4 separate regions of the Homo sapiens genome follow, and all the other regions are linked to region 1. Evidence: promoter capture Hi-C in 16 types of primary human blood cells and fetal thymus (Javierre and others, 2016). All regions are on one chromosome and are shown on one strand. The core of a region is centred on a gene start or on the middle of the fragment in contact, and the rest is flanking DNA. Distances in the headings are between cores, read along the strand shown. Region 1 holds the start of RTN4IP1 (reticulon 4 interacting protein 1). Region 2 holds the start of HACE1 (HECT domain and ankyrin repeat containing E3 ubiquitin protein ligase 1). Region 3 overlaps PREP (prolyl endopeptidase). Region 4 holds the start of PREP (prolyl endopeptidase).

Region 1 (7,871 bases), core at 3,793-6,292:
TCTCATGCCTCAACCTCTGGAGTAGTTGGGATTACAGGTGTGCGCCACGTCTGGCTAATTTTGTAGAAACAGGGATTCATCATGTTGGCCAGGCTGGTCTCAAACTCCTAGGCTCAAGCGATCCACCCACCTTGCCTCCCAAAGTGCTGGGATTACAGGCGTGAGCCACCACACCTGGCCCATATCTTTTTATTTTTAAGACTATTTACAGGCCAGGTGTGGTGGCTCACATCTGTAATCCCAGGACTTTGGGAGACCAAGGTGGGAGGATTGCTTGAGTTCAGGAGTTCAAAACCAGCCTAGAGCTCATCTCTACTAAAAATTTTAAAAATTAGCCAGGCATAGTGGTACATGCCTGTAATCCCAGCTACTCAGGAGGCTGAGGCAGGAGGATTGCTTGAGCCCAGGAGTTTGAGACTGCAGTGAGCCATGATCACACCACTGCACTCCAGCCCAGGTGACAAAGCAAAGCTCTGTCTCAAAAAAAAAAAAAAAAGAAAAAGAAAAAGAAAAAGAAAAAGAATACTTATATAAATATCAGCTAAATAAAACTGAAAACATTCTTTTAATTTTTTGGTTCAAGTAAATTTGCTACTCTATAATAATCCAGAGTAATTTATTACATGGCTTCCATATACAACGTGACTTTTCTCAGACCCAAAAGTATCTGTTATTCTCTCTTCTGCTTGACCTTTTTTTGAGAACCTGTCTGCCATGTGAGGCTTTCCATGATAGGCACCCTGCCTACCTCTCCAGTGTCATGTACCACTCACTCCCTGCCCCACAACGCATGCTCCACAGTCACTAACCCACTCTGTACGTCTCCCCTTGCCCCGCACCCACTCCTGTGGGCAATCCATTAGATCTTAGGGATGAGGAGAAAGCAGCAAAGGAGACTAAGGCGGCAGTTTAAAGACATTCAATGCTGCTGACGGGAGACAGGTTTTCAAATAAGGTCCAAAGATGCTAAGAGGCTTTAAAACAAACAAACAAGCCTGGATCTAACAGACCTTTGGTAACCCTGCCAGGAGCAACTGCTGTGTAGTGCACTTTTGAGAGAATGGGAAATAAGGGACTGGAGACATGAGAAGACTGAACTCTCTTTAAAACAGTTTTGTTGCAAAGGGAGCAGAGAAATGGAGCAGTAGCTCGAAGTGGGAACTGGGATGGACAGAGGACTTTTGAGTGGCTTTTTTCTTTTTTTTCTTTTTTTTTTTTTTTTTTTTGAGACAGAGTCTTGCTCTGTTGCCCAGGCTGGAGTGCAATGGCGTGATCTCGGCTCACTGCAACTTCCGCCTCCCGGGTTCAAGCGATTCTGCTGTCTCAGCCTCCTGAGTAGCTGGGATTACAGGCATGCGCCACCACGCCTGGCTAATTTTTAGTAGAGACGGGGTTTCTCCATGTTGATCAGGATGGTCTCGAACTCCTGATCTCAGGTGATCCACCTGCCTCGGCCTCCCAAAGTGCTGGAATTACAGGTGTGAGCCACTGTGCCCAGCCTTTTCCTTCTTCTTAAGAAAGGAGAAATAACAGCAAGTCTGTATACTAATGGAGATGATCCAGTAGAAAAGAAAAGACTGATGATGCAGGAGACACCTGCCGGAATGATATCCCAGAGTAGGTGAGGGGGATGGGATCAGAAACACAAGCCGAGGGCTGGCCTTATGTGAAAGCAGTGACAGCTAATCCATACAGCAGGAGGGAAGGTAGAAGATACCGAGAGAGATGCTGACAGGTGGGTAGCTTGCATGAGTTGTGTTACTAATAAAAAATCAAGACACATGGGATAAAGTGTTTGAAAGGTGGGAAAGTCCCAGAAAATCTAAGCTGATGGCCATTATACCAACATTACAACATTTGCCATCTGGGGAGTCAGGATTATACTCTGTCAGGGAAAAAAAAAACAACTTCACTTGTAATATTCACAAAAGTCATGTGCTTCACTTTTCCTGCCTTACATTCCTTTTCCACTGCTAAAGATAATTAAACAATTATTCACTGAAACTTCTATGTGGTTTGAACAACAGAAGTGGACATTTAGTCGTGTCAAACTTTAGCTGCTGTTTAAGAGCTGCAGAAAGGTTTCAGTCCTCTTTGAGATACAGAGCCTGCAGCCCAAGGTTGTTTTTAGTTTTCTTGGTCCCCTGATAATGCTAATACATCAACTGAGTAGCCTTGGCTCACTGTTACTATCTAACAAGCCCCTGAACCCAGAATGTAGTCAGCTGGCAGTTAGTAATTGAGAACCTGTTTGGTGACACGGATGACTGAATGGGGCCCTTAAGTGTTCCATCCTATTGACAGGGGTTGACACCTTGACTTGTTCAGAGAGTTGGGCCAATTTGAAAAATCCTAAATCTGTCATCAGTTTAAAGACTTTAATCCCATCTAAAGACACCAAACTTTGTTGGTATGATGCTGTTGGCTGCATTTTTTCCCCATGTAAAAATTCTTCATTTCTTTAGCCATTTCTATGATTTATTATTTTACGTCCAACAGTAGTGGCCGTCTCCAGAAAAACAGCCAGCCTTCATCTTTCAAATAAAATAGACATGTCTCTTGCTTTCTTGCCAAGGGAAATAACTGCTTCCTACAGTTTACAGTCTTCTACTCATTATTTTATTTCCCCAAGCTACTGTTTCAGATATCTTCTGCAATGACAATAAATATCCTCAAAAGGTAGGAGAAAAAAAAAAAGAGGATAACTTGCGAATAATATTACCCATTCAAGTCATAAAAAACTAAGATGTTTCAAGAATACTATATAAAAGTAAAATGTTTTACAGTGTTATATTATTAAACAGCAGCCAAGAAAAGTCTAGATACAGCCATTCTGTTTAAATGAAAATGTACACGGCATGAATTACGCATGTGCATTTAAAGAAATAAAAAGCTAACAGACCTAAACGAAGACAAAATGTAAAAATTACTCATAGATAAAATACTGCTAATTTAAGTTTGTTATCTTAAGTCAGAACAAAAATATAAAAAGGCATAGAAATAGTGACTGAATGACAACTGCGTATGTGAAGCACTGAAACAGGTTGACAAAGCATGGGATCAATCTTGAAAGAACTTACAATCAAAGGAGATGAAAAAACATGCTGATCATTGAGTAAAACTTACCACTAAAAGACATATCTTATAAAAAACTGAATTCTCTTCAAGCCTAATATAAAAAGAATAAAGGAAAACGGCATGCCCAACTGGTAGTAGCAATTACTACTTCAAAACAAAGAATACAAACGTAGACTTCATGAGACAATCACAGTAAAGTCATTTCAATGCTTTTTTTTTTTTTTTTTTTTTTTTTTTTGAGATGGAGTCTCACTCTATCGGCAGGCTGGAGTGCAAGGGCGCGTTCTTGGCTCACTGCAACCTCCGCCTTCCGGATTCAAGCGATTCTCCTGCCTCAGCCTCCCACCAACACAGTGAAACTCCCGTTTCTATAAAAATACAAAAATTAGCTGGGTGTGGCGGCGCATGTCTGTAGTCCCAGCTACTTGGGAGGCTGAAGCAGGAGAATCGCTTGAACCCGGAAGGCGGAGGTTGCAGTGAGCCAGGAAAGCGCCCTTGCACTCCAGCCTGCCGATAGAGTGAGACTCTGTCTCAAAAACAAACAAAAAACCCCATAAATTCTAAACTGACTAGGAAACAACTATACTTCCGAAGCCTGTGACGGATCTCAGAATACCACAAAGTTCCCTGGACAGAAATTTAGCTACAAACATAGGCAGGGCGCAATGGCTCGTCTGTAATCCCAGCACTTAGGGGGCGGAGGCAGAGGATCGCCTGAGGTCAGGAGTTCGAGACCAGCCTGACCAACATAGTGAAACCCCATCTCTACTAAAAATACAAAAAATTAGCCCGGTGTGGTGGCATGCGCCTGTAATCCCAGCTACTCGGGAGGCTGAGGCAGGAGAAATTGCTTGAACCCAGGATGCGGAGGTTGCAGTGAGCTGAGATCAGGCCACCGCACTCTAGCCTGGGTGACAGAGTGAGACTCAGTCTCAAAAAAAAAAAAGTTAGCTACAGACACAGTTCTCAAGTCTGAACTTACATATTTAAGGACGCATGAAAACAATCAAGCTTATATTTTGTCAATACAAATGGCCAGAAGGATTCCCTGGCCATTGCAATTTCAAAAATTTTGGAAATATTTGCAGAGGTATTGTTAAAAACCTAAATGATTCATTTATGTAAACCAAAGAAGCGTAGTCAATTTTTTAAAACGGCATACCTTATGAAAGTGATTTTTTTAAAAAAGGTAACAATGTCTTTTGAAAACTTACTTCTCATATTAACGTCTATAGGATTTACACTGGCAGCGTGAACTTTGACAATGACTTCATTTGGATAGTGTATGATAGGCATCATCATGTTCTGAGTGAATCGAAGCACTTCATTCTTCCCATATTTATCTATCACCCAAGCAGGCATGACAGTGCTCCTAGGAGAGGTAGTACTAATCCTTCTAACTGAAGGCTTTTGGACAACTTTGCTTCTCCAGAAGCAAACCGCAGTGCATGCATTTCTTCTAAGTACACAAGTCTTCAGAAATTCCATTGTAAACACTGGTTGAACTGCGTGCTCAAATTCAAATACACTTGGACTGGATCAAACTCTCACCCCTGAATTCAGTCAAATTCTGCCAAACCACGGGCTAGTTTCAAAATTAAGCATGCAAAACGGAGCATTCGAAAATGAAGCTAATCTAATGGAGAAACTGAAAGAAGAATACGGAACTGTTATTCCGCTCTTCGCATATGAAATGCTCGAATTAACGTTCCAGTCAGTATTCTGTCCATTCTCCTCCCTCACTTTCACCCCCTCCACTTTAAAAAAAAAAGGGGGGGCGGGGCATTAAAAAGCAGGTGCGCAAACCCCCTAGATCCCTGCCCTGTCCTGGGAGCCCTCGGCGGGACAAGCAGACACCGCTCGCGATCCAACGCCAGAGAATCGAACGCTTGCCGACTGCCGCCGCGACCCTGGCCCGGAATCTCCTTGCCTGCCCGCTCTCCTTAGCCGCCGGGATGGCTTTGCGGCGCCAACCAATCGCCTACAAAGATCATTTCCTCGGGCTGCAATTCAACCAATCCAAGTACTCGGTGTTGAAGGGCTCAGTGACAATTAAAGATGGCTGCGCCCATGTAACATCACTAGCGACCGGTGACCTCTTTTTCCCCCTTGCCTGGCTCCTGTGGTGGCAGGCTGGGCACGAGGACCATGCTGGGCCGGAGCCTCCGAGAAGTGAGTGGAATTGGCCCGCTGAGGCCCCCGGGAGGGCGGAAAGTTTAACGGACTTCGTTGACAAAGAGTCCCTGGGCCTTACCACGCATCTTGGCCCACCTCGCTGCTTCCTCTAGAACTGAGTGGGGGATAAGTACCTTTCGATTCTTCGGGTGTACTCGCCGTACCCATTCAGGAGTTAGGACCTTAGCAGGGAAATCTCTGCACCGCGGATCTGTAGGGTGGTGAAGCGGCTTCTCACCATTAGACATTTGCTCTGGTGTAGGTCGGGATCCGGATGGTCTCGGAGTGGGCTTTGCCAAAGGGGGCTTGCGGGGCCACTTCAGTCTCTCTTCTGTCCCCGACACTTAGCTGCAGTTGTCGCTAAGAAGCCCGGCGAAACTGTAGTTTGCAAAATTCAAATGAGTAATTTTTGGCTTTTTTCAAAGAATTCGTTCTCTAGGATTTACCTACCACTAAGATACCAGTGATTTCCTAACCCGTGTCTCCATGTCCTGGACGTCGTGTTTGAATTCTAGACTGTATTTGTGAATGCTTTCTGGGCAGTTCTTCTAAATGTCACATAAGCACCCTCAAATTCACTTTAATCGGTGTTGAAGTAATCATTGTAACAGGACTTACCTCTCAACCCCCGTCTTAAAAAAGCTCTGGTATTTCTGAATTCTTAATAGACTCTTTTTAATGGCACAACTATTATCTCATTTGCCTTTAGATTCTTCCTCATCTTTCATATCCAATAAATCACTAAGCCCTCTTCATTCTATCTTGCAGATATGGCTGGAATCTGCCCTCTTACGTTATTTCTGCTGTTATAGCTTTAATTCGGGTCTTTTTGCTTCCTGGTTCACGTCACTCAACCTTAGAACTGTCTGCAGGCCCATTGCTATCAGAGTCACATAAAGCACCTGTTGAAACTAAAACTATGCCCCACTCTAGACTTAATTAGAGCTGTGTGGTAAGTTCGGGAGTATGGTTTAATGGAGGCTCCAGGTGATTTCTGGTAAGAAGTAGGCGCTGATGACCTAAACTGCCTTCCATCTTCCTTTTTATTCCACCCTAGAAGTTGTCGTTTTGTTTGTTTCCCAGCTGGCAGCGTGGAATTATAATTATAGATAGCTGTAATATATAATGAGAAATTGAAATCCACAGGCTTTAAATAATAGTTCTTCCCCCAAAATACATTATTATGTTATCATTTTAAATTGCGTCGAATCAAATTTGTTCTTTAAAAAATAAATATGCCCGGCGCGGTGGCTCACGCCTGTAATCCCAGCACTTTGGGAGGCCGAGGCGGGTGGATCACGAGGTCAGGAGATCGAGACCATCCTGGCTAACACGGTGAAACCCCATTTCTACTAAATATACAAAAAATTAGCCGGGCGTAGTGGCGGGCGCCTGTAGTCCCAGCTACTCGGGAGGCTGAGGCAGGAGAATGGCGTGAACCCGGGAGGCGGAGCTTGCAGTGAGCCAAGATCACGCCACTGCACTCCAGCCTGGGCGGCAGAGCAAGACTCCGTCTCAAAAAATAAATAAATAAAATAAAAATAAATAAACAGACAACACCCAAAACTTGTTTTAAAATTAAATACAACCTATAAAAATATGTTATTTCCTTTTTCTGCCTTTTCCACTGTCAATCTAAGTAACAGAAAGAGACTCTAAAGAAAATATTTATTTTGGAGTAGCAATGCAATGGGAATATGTGTAATATTGTAAACTATGTGCCTATTCAAGAAGGTTGAGGCAAGGGATGTTTTTAAAGACAGAATGAGAAGGATTACTTAAATTATTTTGAATCAGTTATCCTTGGCCACAAGGATCAGTCACAAAGGTGGCATCAGTCCAAGGTTGGATGGCCAGTTGCTGGACAGACATTCTTACAGAAGTACTCGTGTGTGTGGAAGGTTGCAATGGCCTTTGTGCAAGGTTGTGTTTTTTGCAGTCTTATGATTGTTTTTAAAAAAAAATTTTAATGGGTACATAGTAGGTGTATGTATTTATGGGGCACATGAGATATTTTGATACAGGCATACAATGCATAATAATCACATCAGAGTAAATGGTGTATCCATCACCTCAAGCATTTATCATTTCTTTGTGTTACAAACGTTCCAGTTATACTCTTTTAGTTATTTTTAAACGTACAATAAACTATTGTTGACTGTAATCACCTGCTGTGCTATCAAATACTGTATCTTATTCATTCTGTCTAACTATATTTTGTACCCATTACCCATCCCCACTTCCCACCCCTACTACTACCCTTTCAGGCCTCTAGTAACCATCATTCTACTCTACCTCCACGAGGTCAATTGTTTTCATTTTTAGCTCCCACAAATAGGTGAGAACATGGGAAGTTTGTCTTTCTGTGCCTGGCTTATTTCACTTAACATAATGCCCTCCAGTTCCATCCATGTTGTTGCAATTGACAAGCTCTCGTTCTTTTTATGGCTGAATAGTACTCCATTGTGTACATGTAGGACATTTTCTCTATCCATTCATCTGTTGGTAGATACTTAGCTTGCTTTCAAATCTTGGCTATTGTGAATAGTGCTGCAATAAACATGAGAGAGCAGATATGTCTTTGCTATGTTGATTTTCTTTCTTTTAGGTGCATATAT
Region 2 (7,871 bases), core at 3,436-5,935, 1.8 Mb before region 1:
GGAGATCAAGACCATCCTGGCTAACAAGGTGAAACCCCATCTCTACTAAAAATACAAAAATTAGCCGGGTATGGTGGCAGGCACCTGTAGTTCCAGCTACTCGGGAGGTCGAGGTAGGAGAATGGCGTGAACCCAGGAGGCAGAGCTTGCAATGAGCCGAGATCATGCCACTGCACTCTAGCCTGGGCAACAGAGCGAGACTCCATCTCGGAAAAAAAAATAAAAAATAAAGATAAAAAATAAAAAGATAATATATCCTACAATGCACCCAGTATATACCACATAACCAGAAGGTCTACAATAGAATACTATTCTTAATATGTAAAATAGACTCTGTTTTATCCTCTTATATTTCTTTTTTTAAATGCTGACTGCAACCCACTAATTGCTCTCAGAAACTACCAATGAGTCACCACCAGGAGTTGAAAATACTACACTAAGCCTCCCTTGGCATGACAACATTCTTTATCGTTCATATAATAATACATGTCCCAATAAAAATCTGAACTTCTAAACCATGAGAATTTCCATTAAGTCACCCCATAATAAAGTCATAAAAAACACTGTTATTTGTGGGTTTAAACTTAAATCAAGATAAACTTTAAATCAAGATAGTGCATAATTTTAAGTGAGCGTTAGTGAGCATAATAAGGTTCACAATGGTTGTACTTGTAAGGTTTTTATTTTTTAGATAAAAATTAGATTTACATCTTAAGTCACATCTAACCTAAAGAAAAAAGTAGGTCACATACATTAACAGGTAAGTATGAAGAAATAAATCTAACCACAACTGTGGTGCTAGAAGAAGACTATCCAAGAAATACTATACTAAGAAAGGACAGAATACAATTTGTTGCCAGATACTTCCTTGTCTACTCTTGAAGACACCTTCAGGATTAGGTATATAATTAAAGTCTCCAGGGTGACAAGAAAAGTTTAATCTATCACTTTATTAGACATGTTTGCCATTTTTATCACTACAGTTTCAAAACCCAACTGTTAACAAAAAAAAGGTGCTCAGAGTAATTAATTATATACAATTTCTCTTCAAACCATCACATGGAGTAATTTTTTTAAACACAATTATCCCAATCACATATGCTAAAATGGGCTCAAATTTTATTATTTTATTAAACAAACTGCATTCACTATATAGTAGTTCAAACTTTACATACACTAACAACATACACCTTCCTTTTATTTATGTGTTTTTTTTTTGAGACTGAGTTTCGCTCTTGATGTCCAGGCTGGAATGCAGTGGCGCGATCTTGGCTCACTGCAACCTCCGCCTCCCAGGTTCAAGCAATTCTCCTGCCTCAGCCTCCCAAGTAGCTGGGATTACAGGCACCCGCCACCACATCCAGCTAATTTTTTGTATTTTTAGTAGAGCCGGGGGTTCACCATGTTAGCCAGCTGGTCTCACACTCCTGACCTCAGGTGATCCACCCACGTCGGCCTCCCAAAGTGCTGGGATTACAGGTGTGAGCCACTGCGCCCGGCCTCCAACTTTTAAACACTACTAAGAATCCATATCCCTAAAGTAATTTCTTACTCTTCACCTCTTTTTCTCTCAAGAATATTCCTGTGTTAGGCCTGCCTAGGAGGACTCAACTACCTGCACTCCATTACTTAGGGTAATACTCAGGTTTTCATCATCTCAAGGAAACATAGCATCCAACTCAGTTTATCAAACATCTATAGTTTCAACCTTTGCAACAAAATTAATTTTAGAGTACAAGCTGACTAAAAAGTTTACAAGTTTAATAGTTTGTTGTAATTAGATGCTTATTGATTACTGAATTCTAACAAAGCAAAAAAAATCTGATTATTTTCTAAATTTAGAGAGATCTCAGAGTTTCCATTCAGCTCTTAAAATGTAAGCACAAATGTGGATTTGTATCAGTAGGAATGTTATATATATATTTACATATATATATTTATTTACATATATATTTACATATATATTTACATATATATATATATATTCCTATATGTATGATATACTTTAAAGAGCCAAGCTCAGAGAATTCAAAGACTCATCAGAGCTTAGAGACAAAGATAAATTAAATTCAAGGAACAAAATGAACATTATAATCAAAGAAAAGCAAATGCAAACGATGCCATTTTTGCCTATGTGGAAAAGTTTTACTTTTACTAATAATACTCTAGTTTCTGGGCACTCTCGGACTGCTGGTGGAACTTTCCAAGGAGTAAGTTGAGAAACTGATATGTTGAGCCTTAGAAATGTATTGTAGATATTCTTCTTGTAAGAATTAACCCTAAGGAAGTATTTAGAGGCAGACTATGTCTTAAATACAAAGCTGTTTCTCATAAAATCAGTTTAAAAACAGTATTTAGATTCAACATTTGTTACATGCATCCTATGAAATTCTGAAGTCATTAAGCCTATTGAAGAATACAAAAAAAAAAAAACATTTGGGGCGGGGCACGGTGGCTCACGCCTGTAATCCCCCAGCACTTTGGGAGGCCGAGGCGGGCAGATCACGAGGTCAGGCGATCGAGACCATCCTAGCTAACACGGTGAAACCCCGTCTCTACTAAAAATACAAAAAATTAGCCGGGCCTGGTGGCAGGGGCCTGTAGTCCCAACTACTGGGAAGGCTGAGGCAGGAGAATAGCGTGAACCCCGGAGGCAGAGCTTGCAGTGAGTCGAGATGGCGCCACTGCACTCCAGCCTGGGCGACAGAGTGAGACTCCGTCTCAAAAAAAAAAAAAAAAAAGGATGTTTTCTAAACACAAAATAAAAGACTATATGCAACATGATTTTAACTTGTTAGGGAGGGAAAAAGAAATAACAATGGTAACACTGTTTATAACTGGATGGTGAAATGACATATTTTTTTCTATTTTTCTTTATTTTCCAAATTTTCTACAATGAAACTATATTACTTTTAAAACCAAGTAACATTATCAAAGTCTTCTAAATCACATTTATGTAAAAAATATCGGGATTCAAACTAGACAATATAAATTATACATGTAGTCTTCATAAAGCTATACCAATAATTCGACTACGAAAAATAAGTAAGAGTAGCACTTAAGAAATGGATTCAAAGGTGGAAGTTGGAAAGAAAATATAGAAAAAGTTGAAGCTAGAATCTAGTTACCAAAATCTGAATTCTAAATAGAGACTAGAGACCATTTTTTCAAGAAGATTATCCCCAGGCCAGGCGCGGTGGCTCACATCTGTAATCCCAACACTTTGGGGGGAGCAGGGTGCGGATCACTTGAGCCCAGGAGTTCAAGACCAGCCTGGGGAACATAGTGAGACCTCATCTCTATAAAAGAAAGGAAAGAAAATTATCGCCAAAGTACCCAATCCCACATTTCTTTCATGACCGTCTGCCAAGGTCTCCTTCCCTATCCTACAAACCACCCAGCAGCAATTCAAAGAGAGTTTTGAAAAAGTAAGATAAACTACTACAATTAAGAAAAAAGCTATTCACCAGCTACAACCTCCTCCCAACCCTTCTCTCACTTGGGCATAAAGAGCCAAAAGCTTCTTAGAAGCAGCACTGCTGTCTCCCATCACCACTAAAATGTCTGAATTCCTGACGCTGCAAACAAAACTGCTTATTTTCTCTCCTTGTTATTAGCAGAGTTTTACCTGTCCTGAGGGAACCCTGGCACGCTGAACTAAAAGTCCTGATCCTCAGGGACCATGCCTTATTCCTCTTTGCAGATGCGTCCTAGTTACCAGCTAGCCCACTCAATACTAGTCTGATGAATAAATGAAGAATGAAGGCAGGCATGCATATTAAAGAAAAATATATTGTGTTTACCCATACAGTACTTTAAGAGTACCTGTTTGATGTTTGACAACCCTTTGTTTGCCTGTTATCAAAACAAGGCAGTGCCCCACATTTTAAAAAATAACAAAAATAAAAGCCCGCCTGGCCCCCCGATGCAGCTTAAAGTAAACAGTATCTTTGGATCATCTCTATCCCCAGCTACTGTTAAATGACCCGCAATTATGATGTTTTCTGACTCCGGGTCTCGGGCCTCCGGCTGGTATTCCTGCCCCTTTGCCAAGACCCCTAATCGACAGACGTTGCGAGACCTTTGTCTCGCTCCTCCCAGCAGCGGAACCCCCACCAACCCAGTTTCCTCCCGAAAACTCCCACCTGCCGGGGTGGGAGCGTCGGGCCAGGGGAGTTCGGGGCCCGGGGCCGCCTCTCAGCTCTGGAAAGTAAAAGTGGGCGTTTTCTCAGCTTTCAGTTAGTTTTTCCACCCGACCTTGACGCGGCCGGAGCTCCTGCCCCACTGGCCGCCCCCAGCCCCGCGGCCAGCCTGGCCCCGCGACCCGGCTCACCCTCGGGCAACTCCACGGTGCGCGCGCGGCGCAGCGAGCGCGTCAGGCGGTTGAGTTGCTCCATCGCTCTCTCCATCCTCGGCGCGCCCTCCGCGATCCTCCGCGATCAGCCGCCCCACCGGCGGCCTCCGCGCCCAGAGCCCTACATCTCGCCTGGGCCCGTCCAGCAGGCGGAGACGCGGGCTTGCCCCGGCTAGAGCACTGAGCTGCGAGGGCTGCCTGGGGCCACGTCCTGCGTCCGGGGGCCGGGCTGCTGCCGGACCGACCACCTACAGTACACCCGCCGCCGCCTCTGCTCGCGCCTTTCCTGCAGCCCCCGCCGCCGCGTCCCTCCCGGGCTCGCGTGGCCTTCTGGGAACTGTAGTTTCCAGCTGGCAGAACGGAGCGCCCTGGGCGGAGTCACGTTGGGGGCGCCCAGGCCACGCCAACGCGGGCGCAGGGCTGAGTATGCGGGAAGCCACGCAGCGACTGGGCGTACTCCTAAGCTTCTGGAAAGGCATTCTCACGCCCTGCTCCTCCTACCCTCCTCCAAAGTTGTACAGGAGCAGTTTCCTCCAATTCTATAACTTTACTATAAAACAGATTAGAAATTGGCACAATTGTTCTTAAATCCGTCACCACCTTTCTAGTACTGTATTAGTGCCTTTGTTTCAGGTACCCTACATGAACTGTTTTAAGTATGGTATTTTCATATGTCAAACTTAAAGAGTAATAAAATCAAACAAATCCAAAAGCATATTGTGCTTTTGTCTTCATTGTAAATAACTTGACAATAGCTTAATTAGTTGTTTTTCCTGCCGGGCGGCTTTATGAGGGCAGGGACATTTAATCTTGAACTGTGTTGTATCCCTGTACTTAACAAGGCACCTAGCACAAAGTTAAAGCTCTGGGGAAGATATGAATGATGACAACCTGAAAAAATTTTTTCATTTATTTGGTACAATGCTAAAGTGTCTATGTGATGACACAGCCTAGTGGGAAATCCAAAGGATTTGACTTTGTAAGTTACAAAAAATTTGGATACCTACATTGTGGAAGAAATGAACTCAGTGGCGAAAAATCATATTCATAAGCTCTGCACAGAAGTTGAACACTTGAAACAACAGAAGTTGGAACTTCAAAAAATTAACCCAATCAAAGGGGTAAATGTGAGCCTGGCTAACACCAATATATCTTGGATATATTACCAGTGCCAAGATGATGCTGGAGTGAGGGAGAAACAAAAGGCTTGTCTTTTTCAGCTTCTCTTCCTCAAAGAGACAAAGCTGTTCCTGAAATGAATGGGCACATGTACGTTGATGATGTATGTTGGCTGGCCAAGTGAAAGAGAGTCTCACCTGCCCATTCAGGATATGAAGGGGCAGATGGTGGTTGGCATGTGTTTTCCCTGCCAGTGCCGTCCTAAATCAGTTCCAGCTAGTGACCATTTGTGCCAGTGGTGCCACAGGCACGGGGAAGACCTCTGTAATCTTCACCTAATCAGATGATACCTAAACCAGTCTGGCAACAAGGTGGTAGAGGTCAAAGTTTCAAAAGAATACCAGAGGCTGGGCGCAGTGGCTCATGCCTGTAATCCCAGCACTTTGTGAGGCCAAGGCAGGCGGATCACTTGAGGTCAGGAGTTTGAGACCAGCCTGGCCAACATGGTAAAACCCTGTCTCTACTAAAAATATGTATATACAAAAATTAGCCGGGCGTGGTGGTGTGCCTCTGAAATCCCAGCTACTCGGGAGGCTTAGGCAGGAGAATCGCTTGAACCCGAGAGACAGAGGCTGCAGTGAGCTGAGATCCTGCCATTGCACTCCAGCCTGGGTGACAGAGCGAGACCCTGTCTCAAAAAAAAAGGAAAGGAAGAAAGAAATACCAGACGTTATGGACCAGTCTAGCCCAGGCTCAACCATTTGCAACCTGGCTTCAACTAAAAATGTTCCAGTCTTGCTTGGCCTCTTATGCTATTCAAAAAGTCAGGATTCCCACTGCTGTACAGAAGTTGGCCCCTCAGCTTCTCTCAGCTGCTGTTATCACCATTGCTCTCTAGGCTGTTGCTCCATATAAATTACCTCCAACGTCCTGTGAGGACCAAGCCTGGAGTTTGTGGGCAGGGGTAGGAGCCCCCAGCAGCCTCCATGGTGGGCATTGCATCTCATGCTGGTCACTGTTCACCACAGGAGCAGAAGATAATGGAACAGGTAATGCTGATGTGAATTGTCAGTTCCAAATTCTGCAATATGATGCCGTCTCCCAATAGCTCTGCTTCAAAATGTATAAAGCTGCAGTACTACTATCAGCTTATCACCTCCTGTCCAACAGAACTTTCTGCAATGATAGAAATATTCTATAATCTGCAATGTCCAAAATAGCATCCACTAACCAAATGGGGTTACTGGGTGCTTGAAATGTGGCTGGTGCAACTGAATTTTAAATTTGTATTAAAGTATAAGTAATGAAACTAATTAAGTTAAATAGCTGTATGTGCCTTGTGGTTACCGTATTAGACAGGGCAACTTATCACACCAAGAAGAAAGCTGCCCAGGAGAACACCAAAACAGCTAAACAGCTTCTTATAGATTATTATTAGCTAAAGAGTAGATTTTCTCACCTGTCACCAACACCAAAAACATCAAGTGGAAGTTTCAAAAGGGCACTTTGTATCATAAGTTCCATTAACAAAAGCGTAGAGTTTTTCACTAATGATAACCCAGGTTCTTCTGTGGCCCAGACAGTTTCAACTTTCTTTTTTGTATATCTGGTATTTTTTTCTTCCTGGAAATTGGTTTTATTGAAGATTCCCAAGCATTAAGGGAAAGAGAAGAGAAAAACAATCTGTTCAACAAAAGGCAGGAAATGGGTGGGAAGCAAAGAAAAATGGTCATAAAAACAAAACATAAAGTAGCAGTAGAAATAAATCTAAATATATCCATGGTCACAGAAAATATAAACAGAGTAAACTCAATGTTTACTCTAAAACATAGAGGTCTTAGATAGTGTGTTAAAGAAAAATAAAAATGGAGGCCACAGTTTAGATATACCCAAGTCCAACTGTGTATAACCACAAACCAAAACTCATCATCCTCATTTCCCCAAAACACCATCTGTAATAATAAACACAAAACGCAAGGTTTATATCCTTGTCAGCATGATTCAGTGAAACTAAGCCAATCAGCTATAGACAAATCAGCTTAAATAGTTTCCCTAAAAAAATTAATGTATAACAGACAATCATGAAAAAAGGCCAAAGTACTTCATCTTTACGCTTTATAAACTGTACGGGAAATGCAGTAAGGCAAGCTTCTCAACACTGACTCAAAATATCCTGGATCGCAATTTGTACTTGATCTGATTTATTTCTTACATCTGAAAAGATCAAATAAAACAGCTATTTGCTGTTTCTAAGGGACCACCATTTCCAAAAGGAAATGGAAAAAAGGGATACCATAGAAAATATTAGCCAAATAAATGTGATATAAAAATATATCAGGGTTCTCTAGAGAAACAGAACCAGTAGAATGTGTGTATATATATGGAGAGAGAAAGAGAT
Region 3 (7,871 bases), core at 1,384-3,883, 1.2 Mb before region 1:
AAGCTCACAATGGTCTTCAAATGTGCAACAATGCTTTGGGTTCCCCTACAAAAACCACCAATCCCACTCTGCAGAACCATGATTTTGTGGTGAGACAAACTGTTCCAAAGCTCATTGATTACAATGCATTTAAAAACAAGAGACAAGGGATGTAAAGTATGAATACAGTAATTAACATTTTTGCAAGAGGACCAGTTCAAGAAAAATAAAACTGTTACAGGTCACATTTCTGATTTCATTTAAACAGAAAATAAAATTTACTGAGTCCCACAGAAATACAATTCCAACTATCACTAGGGATTGGCAATCTTCGCCCTGGCCCGCTTTCCTGTGGCTCTGGAGATCAGAATGGTTTTTGTATTTTCAAAGAGCTAGAGGGGAAAAACCAACAGAGACTTATGTGGCTTGCAACATTTAAAATATTTACTATGTGGCCCTTTACAGGAAGTTTGCTGACTGCACTTTCCCTCATTAAAAACATCAAGGAGGAAATTGGATTTTGCTTTTTAGTTATAAAATCAATGCCTATCTGAGAAACCACCCAGGGGAGCATTTTGGAGATCACCAAGTGTGTCCAAAAGCACTACTTCATTTTACAGTGGAAGAAAACACCATGCCTACTTCACAGATATGGAGATGGAGGCAAGTGGTATTAAAGTCCCCTGGTTAAGGTCATGCAGTGAGTTAGCAAAATCACTCAGAGACTGAAAAAGGATGTGGAGATGAAGCAGATCCACCCAGGAAAGAAGGAAGACGCAACCTGGGCCTCCTATGATTTTCTTCTGCATGAACTGGGCTGTGCTGGGTAGGAACATCAGGGAGCTGAAGCATCCACGTGGACTAAACACAAATCTTGTGTGTGTGTTTACACTGATCGTGGCATTGTGGATGGATAAGTGACAAGTCCAAGCTAAAATCCCTGTCATCACGGAGCTCATGCTACTGGGGACACACCCACAAAAAGCCAGAGGGTTGCAGAATGGTTGGTTCTAAGGACATACACAGGGTAATCAGCAGAGCAATGCTGCTTGATACCCAAAGTGTCAACTACAGATCAGTGTTGGCCTGAACTGTTTGCTACCAGCCCACAATGAGAAGAGTGCAGAAAACAAGAGTGAGTGCTGAAAACCTTTATGGCAATTTGACATTACTATGGCATCTTCATTATAGTTTGGAAAAACCTCAATCCACAAATGGTTTGGAAATTTACAAACCAGCCATTCCTTGCAGATCTTGAAAATCACTGGGAAAGAGGGCACCTAATTAAGCAGGGTGGTCACAAAAGCCCTTCTGAGGAGGTTTCAAATTGAGGACTGAGAGGGAGCAACCATGCAAGGTGGGGCAGAATGTTTTGGGCAGAGGAAACAGCAGGTGTGGGAGTCCTGGCAGGGGGAATAACTTGGCAGGTGTGAAGAAGAGTAAGGAGGTGAGTGAGGCTGGGAATGAGCTGAGGCCAGACGACCAGACATGAGCTACAGCAGGCGGCACCTGGTAGGCAGATATGATGTTTCGATCTCTCATCGAAGTGCAAATAAGCCATGATTGGGTAAGGAGATTTACTTTTTGAAAGATTACCGTGCTTTGGACAGAGAACAGACTATAGGGGAGCAAAAGTGGAGACAGACAGGCCAGTTAGGAGGCTGGGACAGTGGTTCGGGTGAGAGACAAGGCCAAGAGGAATGGCTGGTCTCTAAAAGGGGCAGGAACAACCATTATAATGGGAGTGGAAACAGAGAAAATGGGCACAGCACATGTTAGTTTGCAGTTTTGGCTATTTCCCAGAGGGCCTCACCAGAACATTCTAGTCAGAGCCCTAAGAAGGATTCCACACAAGACCCCAGCATGCTGAGGGTCTTGGCTGGCTCCTGCACTTCCACGGAGGGATTCTCTAAGGAGGGTACCCTGAAGATGTCATTTCCCTGATCCTTCTGATTTGCATGAGGCTGCACTTAGGCCCACGGTGGGTCCAAGGGTCAGAGGCTGCTCAACAGATTGCTCAGTTCATTTTCCTTGGAAAAGCAGAATTGTGTTCTCCAGCTGTTTCTCTATTTTGCTTTGCTTCTTTCACATGTCTCATGGTATAATTACAACTACTGCAACATAATTCATCTCACCCTGAAGCAGACACACTGGCTTTTCACATATAAAGTTTTCATAAAACTGTTATGCCAGGCATAAAAATGCTACCAAATAATTCTAGGATTAGTACATCCAATTTTGTCACCTCCTACCCACAAATGTTAGCTAATTACTTTAAATAGACCATTAAAGACTGCACTCTTCCAAGTCAAATATCTAGATGTAAAACCAGAGTGTCCAAATTCCTAAAAGTCTCAAGTTTTTTCATAACACACATCTTTATAACTCGGGCAAATCCTTTTCACGAAGGTGGTAGAAAATTTCTGTAAAGAAGCTTTGTTAAATTTAGGGTTACATAAATGCCAATAATATTTCTGATATTTTAACCAGGGAAATGCCTTCTTGGTCATTTATGTATTTAACAGGTATATCATCTTGGTTGATCTAAATATTAGAAAAAAAAATTGGGGAAAAGGGAGAAAAAGAATAAAAATAAAGAAAAAGAAAATGGAAGTGTTACATGGTGATAAGGAAGCAGGGTGAGGAAAACACAAATTCCTTGTTGTTCAAGGAGTTTCAGTACCCGCAGTCTCATTCTAGGATGTATTAAAATAACTGAAATATGAAAGCCCTGATGCACGCAGCTGAGCTTCTAAAGAGAGTCAACAGTTTAGATTTTATATCCATAGATGAATCTGAACACATTTTCCTAGCAAAGAGTAGCTGCTCAAAACTAAGAAATCTTACTTATATCTCATGTGCCTTGACTATTAGAAAGCTTAAAAGCAAAGCAAAGCTTCAGTTATGCAAGATCATTAAGTTCTAGAGATCTGCTGTACAACACTGTACCTATAGTTAGCAATACTATATTGTGCACAGAAAAATCTGTTACAAGGGTAGCTGTCATGTGAAGTGTTCGTACTGCAATTTAAAAAAGAAAAAGAAAAGCTATTTGGAAAGGGGTGGCTTAATTTGGGAGCTGAGATTCCTTTACTCCTAATGTCTTCAGAAAATTTTTTTCAAAGTGCCCTCATGTACTCTATTTTAATACACAAAATACTGCAGTCCTACGAAATAAGCCAGGCACGGAAAGATGAATACCTCATGCTCTCACTTATATGTTTTATTTAAAGGAGTCAAACTCACAGAAGCAGTAAAATGGTGTTTACCAGAGGCGGGGGTTGGGGGAGATGTTGGTAAAAGGACACAGAGTTTCAGTTAGACAGGAGAAATAAGTTCAAGAGATCTATTGTACAACATGGTAACTGCCTGAAAATTGCTAAGAGGGATTTTAAGCGTTCTCAACACACACACACACACACACACACACACACACACACACACACAAAGTATGTGAGGTAATTACACATATGTTAAATAGCTTGATTTAGCCATTTCACAATTTCTACATATATCAAAATGACGTGCTACACACCTAAATATATACAATTTTCACCTGTCAATTTGAAAAATTGACTTACGAAATACAGATACAGGCTCACTTACTGATTGCCTTAACTTTTCCCTTTCTAAATGGAAGTGTAAATTAAAAATACTGTTCACTTAAAAAAAACTCATCTTTTTACAATTCTTACATAAATGAATAAAAATTATGCCTAGAATTACTCATTAAATAAATATTTATACAAAACACTACAATGTGCACCATGGTGATTAACAAGATGAATGAAAGATAAAGATATGTGCTAGAGGAGAACAAATAAAGGGGAAGCTACTTCCAGGGCAGGGCAGGGTGGGCTGGGGCAAGTGCCATTGGCAGGCAGGCAAGACGACCAGGAGGGACTTCCAGGTAGAGACTGGCTCAGGCCCGGGTATCAACCTCCCCTCTTCTGAAATACCAATGAAAACTAAGAGTGGTGCTATCTACATCCCACAGGCTTTGAGGAGCATCTGTTACAAATAACAGATATAGGACTTGGTTAAGCAACTATCAGGGGCTTCTGGAGAAAGTGGCAAAAACCATAATCCCAGCCTAAGTGAAAGGCATGGGCGGCACACTTGGATCCCCTCTCACTTTAGCAGAATTTGGAATTTGGAAATGACTCTCCAAGTACAGGGACAGCCCCATCAAAAAGCAGCCAAGAGGCGCTCACCCTGAGGCTGTAGGACTTAGGGCCAGGAGGGCAGGACAGTCAAGGTAGGTCATGCACAAAAGAGAATTAGATGCAGCTGCTTTTCAGGAAACACGTCCAGAAATGGAAACAATAAAAGATTGGAATAATGTACTTTCCAAGGCTAATATCTATGCCAAGGAATCTCTACCATTAAAAAAAAAAAAAAAAGAGTGCTCGTAATTTTCCAGGACTTACTCAATATTTACAAAAATCAGCAGCCCATCAGACAACAAAGGGGGAATCTTAAGCCCCAGAAAGAAAAGCTTGTTCAGGTCACAGTTTTGACCACAATGCCATTAACCTCACCACATGAAGTGCTTTCTTTTCCTGGCCCACAAGCAACCCCCTACTCATTCTCAAGGTGGAGAAATATTCTAGTTCAATCAGTGAGAGCCCAAAATCTTTTGGGCTCAACTTTAACATAAAAAACCCAGAGTGGGCCCATCTCTTCTCTCTGGGACCATCTGCTCTTGGGTGAAAAGGGCTCATAGTAAGCTTCCTGCTGCACATGATCAGCAGACTAGGCGGAGCCTTCTAGAAGCCTGTCAGGCCTCTTTCCACCTCTCTGCTTGTCCCCGTGTGGGTAAATCAACTCGTTCCCTCACTGGGACTAGTTACTATCAATTAGGGAGGAAGCAGAAACCGTCACTCCGACCTGATATTCAAGCCTTGTTCTCAATACTCGTCATGACCAGGGAAAACTGAAATTTTAACCCCATTAGGCTCCATTCTTTGGTGTATACTTTCCTGACCAAAAACCTGGTGAAGAGGTGATTTGCACCTCAAATCCAAACCTAACTAAATATCTGATCGTGAGGACATTAAACACACTCATATCCTCCCTCTCCTGAATAATTCTGTATCAATGAGGAAATCCAAACTGTAACAAGATTACTTAGAAAATACGAAGAAATAAGAAAAACAAGACTATCACACATTAAGTTTCATGGGATGTGGCAAACACTGTTGGAGTTGACATCTATTTCTTTCTGGTGCCATATGAAGTCCCACTGATAGTTGGGGAAAGGGTGTGACCGCTGCTGGCCAATCAGAATGTCCCTCCCCCAGACCACGGCTGGGCAGGACCTCAAGCAGGTGAGGCTGCGGCTCATCTCAGGGCTTGCTGGCATGACTCACCCATCAGGGAGCCAGCCTCTTCCAGTCCTGCACTACTGAATTCAGGAGTGTACAGGAAGCAGGCTTGGGAGACTGAGTGCTCATGCTTGGTTATGCCAGGTACCGAAGGGCAGTGATCACACTGTGACTGATGAGGAACATCTGGCTGGAACGGTGACAGTTATACCTTCAGAAAGTTTGAGGTTTACCCTCTTTCTCCATCAGATCGTATCATCTGCAATTGAGCATTCTCAGTGAGGATTCTTGGTACCGCTCGCTTGTACCTCCATCTGTCATAGATAATGTGACAGACACCTCTGTCTGTATTCTAACTATGCTAACTCCCTTCCACGTTGTTTATATAAGTAAACCCTGTTCATTTTCATAAGCAAAGTCTTTCCATCAATTCTAACCCACAGGCAATAGTCAACAAAATAGTAATAGTAGTAAACCCAGGCAAAACAATCAGAATCCTTTTTTAGGGACAGAGATGAGTATTTGAAGGGAGAAGTTATCTCAACTTAAGACACTTGGGGCTACAAGGACTGTGAGAAACCCAAAGAGACAAGACCCATCTTTCTCTGCCACACAGGAGTGGCTGCTGGAAAAATAAAATTATCAGAGAAAAGCAGATGACCTAAGAGAAAAAGACAGGTTCCCAAAAATACCACATGCACTCCTGGATCAGACTGTGCCTAAAGGCACTTATACCCTGAACCCCAATAACGTGAGCCACTCAGCTCCTCTTTTTATGTGAGCTGGTCTGAGTTGGGATTCAGGTACCAGTAATAAAGTGTCCTAACACAGCTTTCCTTGGAAGCCTCTGGTTTTCTGAACGAGATGAGACTGGATGACCATGAGCAGGCTGGAAAGAGGAGAGCTGACCAGAAGCTTGCTCCAGGGCTGGCTGGGGATGACTGAGCAAGTTCTCTACAATAAAGGTGTTTTATGAGAAAGAATAAACTTTAAGCATTAAAATAAAAAATTTTAAAATAACAAGAGAAAATAAGAAATCAATGAACTAGAAGCTTTTAAGCATGAAACTTAGACTTCCTAGATCTGCTTTAAAAAAAAAAAAAAAAAAAGAAAAAAAGCACATTTAGCCAAAGCTCTGGCTAAACTAATCAAGCAAAGATGATGCTACAGATACTCAAATTTAGAAATTATAAACAAATATAACCACGGATTGGGAGAATAAAGTCATTTAAAAAGCATATTACACATAACTTCATGCTAGTAATTTTTAAATCTCAATGAAATGAATAATTTACTAAGAAATACAAAGGACTAAAATTGATCCAAAAAGAAAGCAGAACTGAACAGAGCAATGACTGTGAAACAAAATGGGGGGAAAAAACCCAAGAATTAATTGCAATAAAAGAACTTGTCCCAGATAACTCTAAGGATGAAGTTTTTCAAATTATCAAAAACCATAATTTCCATATTATTTAAATGGCTCAATAATGAGTGCAATGGTGAGCATTTATTAAGCACTTACTATGTGCCTGCTACTTTGCTAAATGGCTCAAAAACACTATCATTTAATGTTAACAATTATATGAGGTGGTTTTCTCCAAATTACAAGTCAGAAAAATGAGGCTAAAAAACACGACCAATTGTCAGACTGGGTGTGGTGGCTCACATCTGTAATCCCAGCACTTTAGGAGGCCAAGGCAGGCAGATCACGAGGTCAGGAGATCGAGACCAGCCTGGCCAACATGGTGAAACCCCACCTCTACTAAAAATACAAAGATTAGCTGGGCGTGGTGGCGCATGCCTGTAATCCCAGCTACTCGGGAGGCTGAGGCAGGAGAATTGCCTGAACCAGGGAGTCAGAGATTGCAGTGAGCCGAGATAGCACCATTGCACTCCAGCCTGGTGACAGAGCAAGACTCCATCTCAAAGAAAGAAAGAAAAAAACCAACATGACCAATGTCTAATAAAATTGTGGAGCTAAGATTCAATCCTGCCTTTCTACCTCTAAAGTTGCTCATTTAACAACTATACGCACTGCCTTCCTATGAACAGGCAGAGGTTCCAACATTGCTAAGGGTTCTCATTAGTTGCTAGAGGGAGCAGAGTAAAAAGAAAAGTCTGGAAGAAAAGAGACAAGTTAGGAAGTTACTGAACATCTAGCTCAGTGGCAATGTATGAGAGACCCAGGGAGGTGTTGGCACAGACAAGAGCGCAAGTAGAAAGTCATGAGATTTTATGGAGGTACAACTGGAGCTCCAGAGAGTCATGTATATGATTAAATGAAGAGCTGATTCAAATGGTCAGAGGATCTGGAAGAGTCCCAGAAATTTTGTCACATGCCTTGATTTCCCCCAATGAAAAAAATTGGAACCATTAACACTAATTTACAAAGATGCTATAAACAACAGTGAGGCATCTATTAGAACTTAGCTGCTTATGAATAGGCCCTAAAAAAAATGAAAGGTATTATAATTGTTCTTTAATCAAGTAATCTAAGTATTCCCTAGGGCAGTTTTCCCAAACTTTCTGGGTCTGAAGAATTACCTGAGGGTGAGGAATAGGGGT
Region 4 (7,871 bases), core at 2,386-4,885, 1.2 Mb before region 1:
GCCGATACTTCAGGTGAAGAAATCATCAGGTCCTTAGAGACAGTTTTCCAAGAGATGCACAGGAACTTCATCCTTTCCCTGGTGCTTTCTAGCCAGTACAGGTTATGCAGGTGCATGTGACTCTCCACTCCCAGACCCAATCCCTCTGTCTCAGTCAGCCCAGTGTTGAACAATCAAGGTAATCTATGGCAGGGATGAAGTGGGGAGGTAACCCCACACCTGTTCTCTGTCCCCTCAGACTTACCTGCAGAGCTACAGCCTTCACCATTCCTAAAGATACTCAGGTGTTTCTCACTTTGGAATTTCTGCCCATCCACTACTATAACCCAGTGCTTCTGGAAAGAAAAATTAAACCCCAAATATCAACCATTCTCATCCATGAGATCTTTGTCTTTCTTGAAGGGAGTTAGAGAAAGAATGTAGGATTGCAGATAAAAGTAAAAACCATTAGGAAATCTCAAAATAGCAGTGTGCTTACTTTAGGGACAAAGGATAAAAAGAAGTTGTAAGAGCTTTGCAGTGGGCAAAGGAGAGACACTACTCACAAAGAACAGGTGAGGATAGCAGAAAGCAGGTGAGCCAGTGCTTGAGACTAAAGGAAGAAGAAAGAGATGATCATGTGGTTTACTCCCCTGCCTCTACTTTCTCTCTTTTCTCCATATACCATCATGCTCTGGCTAAGCTCTTCACTCCATCCCTTTCCTTGTCCCAGTGGGGAGATGGGCAATTCTACATCAGGAAGGGATGCTTTCCTGGCAAATCTGAATTCAGGTCTCCAGAGAACACTGGTATATACGGTGGAAAGGGACTGCAAGAAACAGGCGGAGTTAAGACACAGGCGTTTGAAGACTGGCCTGAAAAACTACCTAGAGTGCCATTTAACCTTTTTTTTTTTTAAATGGGAAACGTACCCTGCAACTCTAAAGAAGCTCGAATAAATTTTGGGATGCTGAACATATCAGAAACTGCAAATATGTACTAAGTATTATGTACTATGGTTATAAATAGAAGAATCCAAGAACTTAAGATGAACTTGAGAAACACTATTCCCCCAACCAAGCAAACTTAATTAACTACATAAAGTACACATAAATGGGCTGGGCGCGATGGTGCACACTTGTAATCCCAACACTTTGGGAGGCCGAGGCGGGAGGATCACTTGAGGCCAGGAGTTCGAGACCAGCCTGGCCAACATGGTGAAACCCCCGTCTCTACTAAAAATACAAAAACTAGCCGGGTGTGGTGGCACATGCCTGTAATCCCAGCTACTCGGGAGGCTGAGGTACAAGAATTGCTTGAACCCAGGAGGCGGAGGTTGCAGTGAGCCAAGATCGCACCAGTGCCCTACAGCCTGGGTGACAGAGTAAGACTCTGTCTACAAAAAAAAAAAAAAAAAGTATACATAAGTGACAAGTCCTAGGCACTCCAAAAAGGGAAAAATGTCTGTGGGACATAGGACTTAGGGCCACCTTCATTACTGAATGGACTTCAGCAGGATCCTTGAAATACTGTTTCTCCAAAAGAATATGAAAGCTTTATGTTTTTAGGGCAGAAAATGCTCCCCCCTGCCCCTTCACTACTTAGCTTTTGTTTCACTGTTGTTGTGTTGACATCAATAAGCAATTTAAGGACAGTGTTCAGTTTTCATGACCTAATATTCATTTCATATACAAGATTTCCTTTTCTTTGGAAAAAAATATTTAGGCAATTTTTTCCTTTAACATCATTTCTATCTAGGTTTTCATTTTTTCTTTTGGCAAAAATCAGTTTTCTTTCTGATATTTTCATTTAAAATAGCTCATCAGTGTCACTATGAACCATAAACATTATCTGAAACACTTAGGTGATCTTCTCTGGGACTAAGCCATGCTTTTGTCTTTTTCCCATAAATTATTTGACAAAAAGTAGTGGTAACAACAGGTATACTCACCATCCCATGGCAGAAAACACAGGAGAACACCAGAAAGGAAAAGCTATAGTTACTGACATTTAGAGTTTGGTGCTAGCTACTAAGGCTGCCTTATCTTTAATTAGAAACCAAATTACCTTAGTCTGTTCACTGTCGGGGTCTTCAAGCCAGGCGTAAGGGTCACAAATTTTATGACCATGATAATCCTGTACCTGTAAAAAACAAAATGAGGTATTAGATAATTACTCTCTAACCCCAATTAAAACTGGTATTTTTTTAATGTAATGGAGAAATAGGAAAGGGATGGACAAAAATGCTAATTGGCTCACTGGCAACGTGTCTGCCCAAATTACCACATGAACCAAAGTTGGCAGGTTCTCAAAGGTGTCAAGCCACCCTTCATGAAAAGAATGTTTCAGCTAGAGAGGAAAGAAAGATGAAAGGTCAGAACAGGAAACCGCTCTGTCCCTACAACACAAAACAAAGACCTGCCACTGTGCTAAAGAAACTTGAAAACGTGCTGTCAGCAGCCAAGCACAGAATGACACAATACAGTGGACAATACAGTGGGCACACAAGAAGGGCACGTCAGGGAGGGGGCTAACACACACGTGCTCATTCTCCTGTTCCGCTGAGCTTCCCAATGATTAGAAAATCTCCCTGCAATATAGCCCAGGTTTGCTTTTATGTCTAAACTGCCAAAAAGCAAGTTACTAATATGTAGTATAATGATTCTAATTGACATAAGTTCAAAAAGCTGACTTAAATGCAATGGCAAAACATTTTAAAACTAATGCCTTTCTTCCTTTTTATTTACTGTTATGAAATGCTTTTTTCCACTGTTTACAAAAAGAAGGTGCAAAAGCATCACCCATTCAGGTTACCATGATATTGGAAGAAATAAAACTGCTTAGTGTAAGTAGAACCTGGCTGAAGGAAGCTTTCTGGAGCTTCTAAGGCCTGGCCTTAGAAGCCACTTGAAGGCGTTTGAAGGAGCAAGTAGAAACAGTTTTCACCACTCCTCAAGTGATTATGCCAAAAGAAATTATCCAGCAGTAAAAATCATTACAAAATCTCTCCACCTGATACCATCAAGATTAACCCCATTAGGACAGAGTGCAGTGGCTCACAGCCATAATCCCAGCACTTTGGGAGACTGAGGCAGGCGGATCACTTGAGGTCAGGAGTTCAAGACCAGCCTGGCCAACATGCTGAAATCCTGTCTCTACTCAAAATTTAAAAATTAGCCGGGCATGGTGGCAGGTGCTGTAATCCCAGCTACTCGGGAGGCTAAGGCAGGGGAGTCTCCTGAACCCAGGAGGCAGAGGTTGCAGTGAGCTGAGACAACGCCTATTGCACTCCAGCCCGGGCAACAGAGCAAGACTTCATCTCAGAAAAAAAAAAAGATTAACCCCATTAATGAAACCACACTGACAATGTCTTGCCAATCAAGTCTCTGAACCACTCCAACATTCTAGTTAAGGCTTCTTGTATAAAGCTGTTGGGAAGACTACCTCTATCTCAGATGAATTTTTTAATCTGTCTCCTTGCTTTGTTCTACAATGCCAGAAGGTAAGGGCTATTTCCTAAAGAAAACCTAGTGCTGCTCTAGTTCCAGTGTGGCTCTGGCTGGGTGAGAACAATCTCCTTGGCCCTTACAACACCGGGCTTTCCACATCTGTCCTTGTCTGATGCCAGGTCAAAGAACTCCTGGGGAAATGCACAACTGGATAAATGGGCAGGTAAGCCAGAACACTCTGTATATATTTTCATTAAACAACTGACTGAGCAAGGGACGTAAAAACAAGAGCAAGGAACATAAAACCCGACTAAAGCCTCTCCAGATGGGTCTTCATAAAGTTACCAATTTTCAATTCTGACCTCTCTAAATTTTAGCAGATTGTCACCACCGAACAACAGCTTTTCATCTTTTCTTCTCATCTGCAAGTCTTTTACGTTTTACACACCTTGAAGTGGTTATAAAATAGGCTTAAAATAACAATCTGCTTTTCCTAGCATTAAGAAATCAGAAAATTTTGAATTGTAAAGCATCTTTCAATCATGCACTTCTAGGAGCAACAGCAGGGATAAGGCTGGGTAACATGCCCAGAACCATATCAAGTTCAGAACCAGACCTGGGACTAAAGCAGTCAGCCCACCCTTTTCCCCAAACACTCATCAGAGGGGCCAGAATAGACACTTAAAAAATGTTCCTGGATTATGTTACTAAATTCAGGCATATCTAGAATTTTACACCAAGCAGCCCTATCTGCCCAGACCGGGCACCATCATCTACAGCAGATGGAAGTTATTGATCAGATATTTTTAACTAGGACAAGAAACATTCTCTCCAGGACAATTCCAGAGTTAATCCCAGGAGCCACAACTTTCCACCTCCAATTTTTTCTAAGACCATACCCTACAAATGAGGTGGATGTGTCTTATAGCCACTTCCCTTGAATCAAATTCTTCCACCTGATTTAAGTTTGCTAATCATTCTTGATCTCCTCAAGAAGCTTTAAAAATAGAGCCCTGATAAGGTACTGTACTACTTAATCCTGTTCGATATTTTACTTGTACTGTTCAACAACTCACCCACTGCCTTCAGGATAAAGTGCAGACTCGTACACACAGCAGGCAGGACCCATCAAACCTGCCCTGCTCATCTTTCCAGCCCCATGCAAATTTATCCATCTGTTGATGGTCTGGTCAGAATCGCCTTCTTGCCACCCTACAAACAAATGCAATTCCACAACAATCCAGGCCTGCATAGCTATGGCTTTACTTTAGTCACAGGATCAGGAATGTCCTTTGTCCCTTACCCAACTGGTCAACTTCCAGACTCAATTCACATAATGCCTCCCCCTCCTGATGGAAATTAGTCCCATCCTCTTCTGTGTTCTCCTCTCACCCTAAATCCTCTTCTATCAGAGTGTGAGTCCCCTGTGACAGGCCTGAATTTCCTGATAGCAACTCTCTTAAGCAATGGTCGATGGTATTGCACAAGAAGTGTCATGGCTTCCAAATTTCTGCCCAAAAAGGCAGAACTCCACCAAAATGGTCTCAACGCTCCAAAGCTTTCAGCAGGAGAGTACTGAGCATATGGCTGAAGGTGCTCAAGTGAAAGAGACAGAGAGCTACCGCAATGCCCAGCTGATGCTGGGGAGAAACAAACCCATCCTAGAAATCAAAGGCTACCATTTAAGCAAATACCTAAGTCAAGCCTAGGGCTTAGTAACCAAAACCTTAATGCAAAAAAAAAGATACTCCACCGTAAGCTATCAAGGAGCCACACAACAAGATCCAGACTGGGCCAGAGCTACATTCCCTTGGCCACGAGGCTTAGAGTTAGCATGAGTTGCTTAATGAGAAGGAACTGGAGTGTATTAAAATCCACAGTATACCCTTCCGAGTTGTTTATAATCTTTTAGACGTCTTCATAAAATCCTCACTTAAACCTTTCATGAAATATCAAACATAAATAAACAAACTGTAGGATTTAGGCACCCACAGTGGTGAAAAACTAACAAGTAACTCTAAAAACAAACTTAAAACTGCACTTATCAAACCACAGAATGGGTAATTCTTTATATTCTGATCCTCAAGAACCAGAACCAAGAGAGTCACCTGGCTTCCCATTACTAGTCTGGAACACTGCAGAGCTAGACTGTCACATGAATGAATGAATGAATGACAACATTCCTACTGCAGAAGCAAGTAAGCCCTATGGTCAGTCCAAATATTTCTCATATGAGAAAAAAGGCCCATAACAGGTAAAAGAGCTGCTAAAAGTCACCTAACTAGTGAATGACAGAACCAGAACTAGCGCTCTGGTCTTTTCATTTAGTCCAGCCTCTTTCTCCATTCCAGCAGGATCACTTTACTCCCATATTCAAAGGAAACAACCTTTAAACCACAGGAATAGAGCTTCTTGAGCTGTTAGGGTAAATTTAATAAGCAAGCAGCTGAGCAGACTGAGAAAACATGGTTACCAGATGGCCACTGGTCAAAGAAACCATGAATGAATGCATCAGTGTCACTTGGAAGTCTTAATTTAAAACAGTATGTCCTTTACTCCGAAGCGTCAGCACCCTTTACCCCAATGTAGCACGTGCTTTAAAGTAAACACTTTCTGGCATAAATTGGGAAAGTAAACAGAAAAACATTAAAACTGTATCACACAAATACATACTTATTCTGATTATATTTTAAGTAATCTGAGAAATGTAGCTATTAGTAAGAGAATCACGGCCACAACATGTGGATGCAATCCAGTTCCTAAGTCGTCAAATTCACGTTTACACAAAAAAGGTGTCTGCCCAGAATTCCGCCTACTGGATCTCAACAGTTACCTTGAGTTCATCTGCAGCTTAGGCAAATGGTGGTCAACTCCGCCACTAGACAAAACTTACTCATTCTGAAAAAGGTCAACCCCTCTCCCTTCTAAGACCTCCTCTCACCCTCTCTCAACTCCTTTTCTTGTTTAAGAAAACATGGATCAGCACGGCCACACTATGGGGTCACTGCTCCGCCTTCCCCATTTCTGTCCGGGTCTCTGGCATCCCCAGGGCCCAGTGCGCCTCATCCGACCTGGGACAGGGTAGGCGCTCAACACACCTTTTAAAATCGAACGAATATGCTTCAACTCTAAGGACTTTAAAGTGTAAGTTTTAAAAGTTTGTTTTCGTTTTTAAATGTGACATCACACACACACACACACACACACACACACAAACACACACACACACCCCAGCGGACACTTTCTCCTACCACCATATTTAAGCAAGAGGCTTCGCCAGTCAAAAAAGCAGTGACACCGTCTGTCTTCCCACTCCCTGAAGACACCCATTCTACCCGGGCGTCTGCCCTTGACCCCATTGATTCTAGGAAGCGGCCGGGCGGCGCTGCCCACAGGCTCCGCCGCCAGCACTAGCAGAGTGACCGCCCGCGGGACCCCAGCGCTGCAGAGGAGCCCCGCGCCCCCGGCCCAATTCTCCCAAACAAAGGCCGAGGGGGAGGGGAGGGACGCGGGGGTCGAAGGCCTACAGGAAGAGGAGCTGCGGGTGCCACGGGTCAGGCAGGCTGGGCACCTTTGCCCGGGAGCCCTCTGGGCGGAGGCAGAGATACTTACGGCGGTCTCGTCGCGGTACACGTCGGGGTACTGAAGGGACAGCATGGCCGGGGACAGGCAGGGGGCAGCGTGGAGGGGCGCGGGCTCCGGGAGCGGACCTGAGCTAGCCGGGCTGGCCGCGAGGCGCGGCTGGGGCGCAGGCAGCTGCGGGGCGGCCGGCGGCAGCGGGCGGCCGGCTCACGGCCAGAGCTAGCACAAACGGACTGGCGGCGCGGCGGCGAGGACGTGCAGAAAGCAGGAAGCCGCTGTCTGCGAGGCCGGGAGCCCCTCCCCGGCGGGCGGGCCCAGCGGCGGCGGCGGCGGCAAGAGGGAGCGGGCGGCACCGAGCGTGCGCTAAGGCCGGCGCACAGCTCCCTCTGCAGGATCGCCGGCCGCGCCCGCGCCGCCCGGGCGCACGGAGGAGCACGCCGGCTACGCGCTCGCCCACGCCCGGCCGCCCGCCCGTCCTCTGCGCCGGGGACAAGTCCTTCCACCGAGGCCGGGTCCCCGCGCCTTCCCTAGCGCCCTGCCTCTCTTTGGCCGCGCTCGCAGGACCGCCTGTAGGAGAGTGAAGCCCCAGGGTTTCCTTGCTGATGGAGTCCCCCACCTTCCCCAGCCTTCCTGTTCCCGGGCTGGTTACGGCGGCGAAGGGAGACCTTGCCTCTCCCCAGCCTTGGAAGCAGAGGGCTGGAGGTGGCCTTATGTCCACTGCCTGCGACTCTGGACTTGAAGGGAAGAAGTAATCGATCATGATGACCGTGAAAGAAACACGTCTCCCTTCATCCCAGGACCCCTGGTGGACACTGGGTGGTTTAGCATCCGGACTATGGAGATGCTTTGGAGGTGTTGGCA

Evidence for each region. The method cuts DNA at HindIII sites, captures the fragments that hold promoters and counts their contacts. A CHiCAGO score of 5 or more calls a contact.
Region 2: the fragment with the promoter of HACE1 here is called in contact with the fragment with the promoter of RTN4IP1 in region 1 in 4 of 17 cell types (total CD4 T cells, non-activated CD4 T cells, fetal thymus and 1 more); the score reaches 12.1 in total CD4 T cells.
Region 3: a contact is called between a fragment that was not itself captured here and the fragment with the promoter of RTN4IP1 in region 1, in 1 of 17 cell types (activated CD4 T cells). The highest score is 5.1, in activated CD4 T cells.
Region 4: a contact is called between a fragment that was not itself captured here and the fragment with the promoter of RTN4IP1 in region 1, in 4 of 17 cell types (activated CD4 T cells, total CD8 T cells, non-activated CD4 T cells and 1 more). The highest score is 8.1, in activated CD4 T cells.

What each region holds. Positions count from the first base shown.
Region 1 is chr6:106,624,456-106,632,326 of GRCh38, forward strand. It overlaps RTN4IP1 (reticulon 4 interacting protein 1), which reads right to left and starts at 5,043. Exons shown (of 9, transcript NM_032730.5): 1 at 4,293-5,043. The coding sequence starts at 4,566. QRSL1 (glutaminyl-tRNA amidotransferase subunit QRSL1) reads left to right here and starts at 5,123. Exons shown (of 11, transcript NM_018292.5): 1 at 5,123-5,250. The coding sequence starts at 5,227. RefSeq lists enhancers at 5,125-5,264, 5,295-5,354. The HindIII fragment of the contact is 4,979 bases long and covers 4,088-7,871 here.
Region 2 is chr6:104,855,234-104,863,104 of GRCh38, forward strand. It overlaps HACE1 (HECT domain and ankyrin repeat containing E3 ubiquitin protein ligase 1), which reads right to left and starts at 4,686. Exons shown (of 24, transcript NM_020771.4): 1 at 4,334-4,686. The coding sequence starts at 4,409. It also overlaps the pseudogene LOC100422315. RefSeq lists a silencer at 4,115-4,744 and enhancers at 4,367-4,866, 4,481-4,775. The HindIII fragment of the contact is 1,298 bases long and covers 3,519-4,816 here.
Region 3 is chr6:105,378,888-105,386,758 of GRCh38, forward strand. The region is part of intron 2 of PREP (prolyl endopeptidase); the gene reads right to left. Among named protein-coding and RNA genes, the nearest start is that of PREP, 20 kb to the right of the region's middle. The HindIII fragment of the contact is 444 bases long and covers 2,412-2,855 here.
Region 4 is chr6:105,395,807-105,403,677 of GRCh38, forward strand. It overlaps PREP (prolyl endopeptidase), which reads right to left and starts at 7,276. Exons shown (of 15, transcript NM_002726.5): 1 at 7,041-7,276; 2 at 2,047-2,121. The coding sequence starts at 7,085. RefSeq lists an enhancer at 2,094-2,856 and a silencer at 6,984-7,553. The HindIII fragment of the contact is 1,576 bases long and covers 2,848-4,423 here.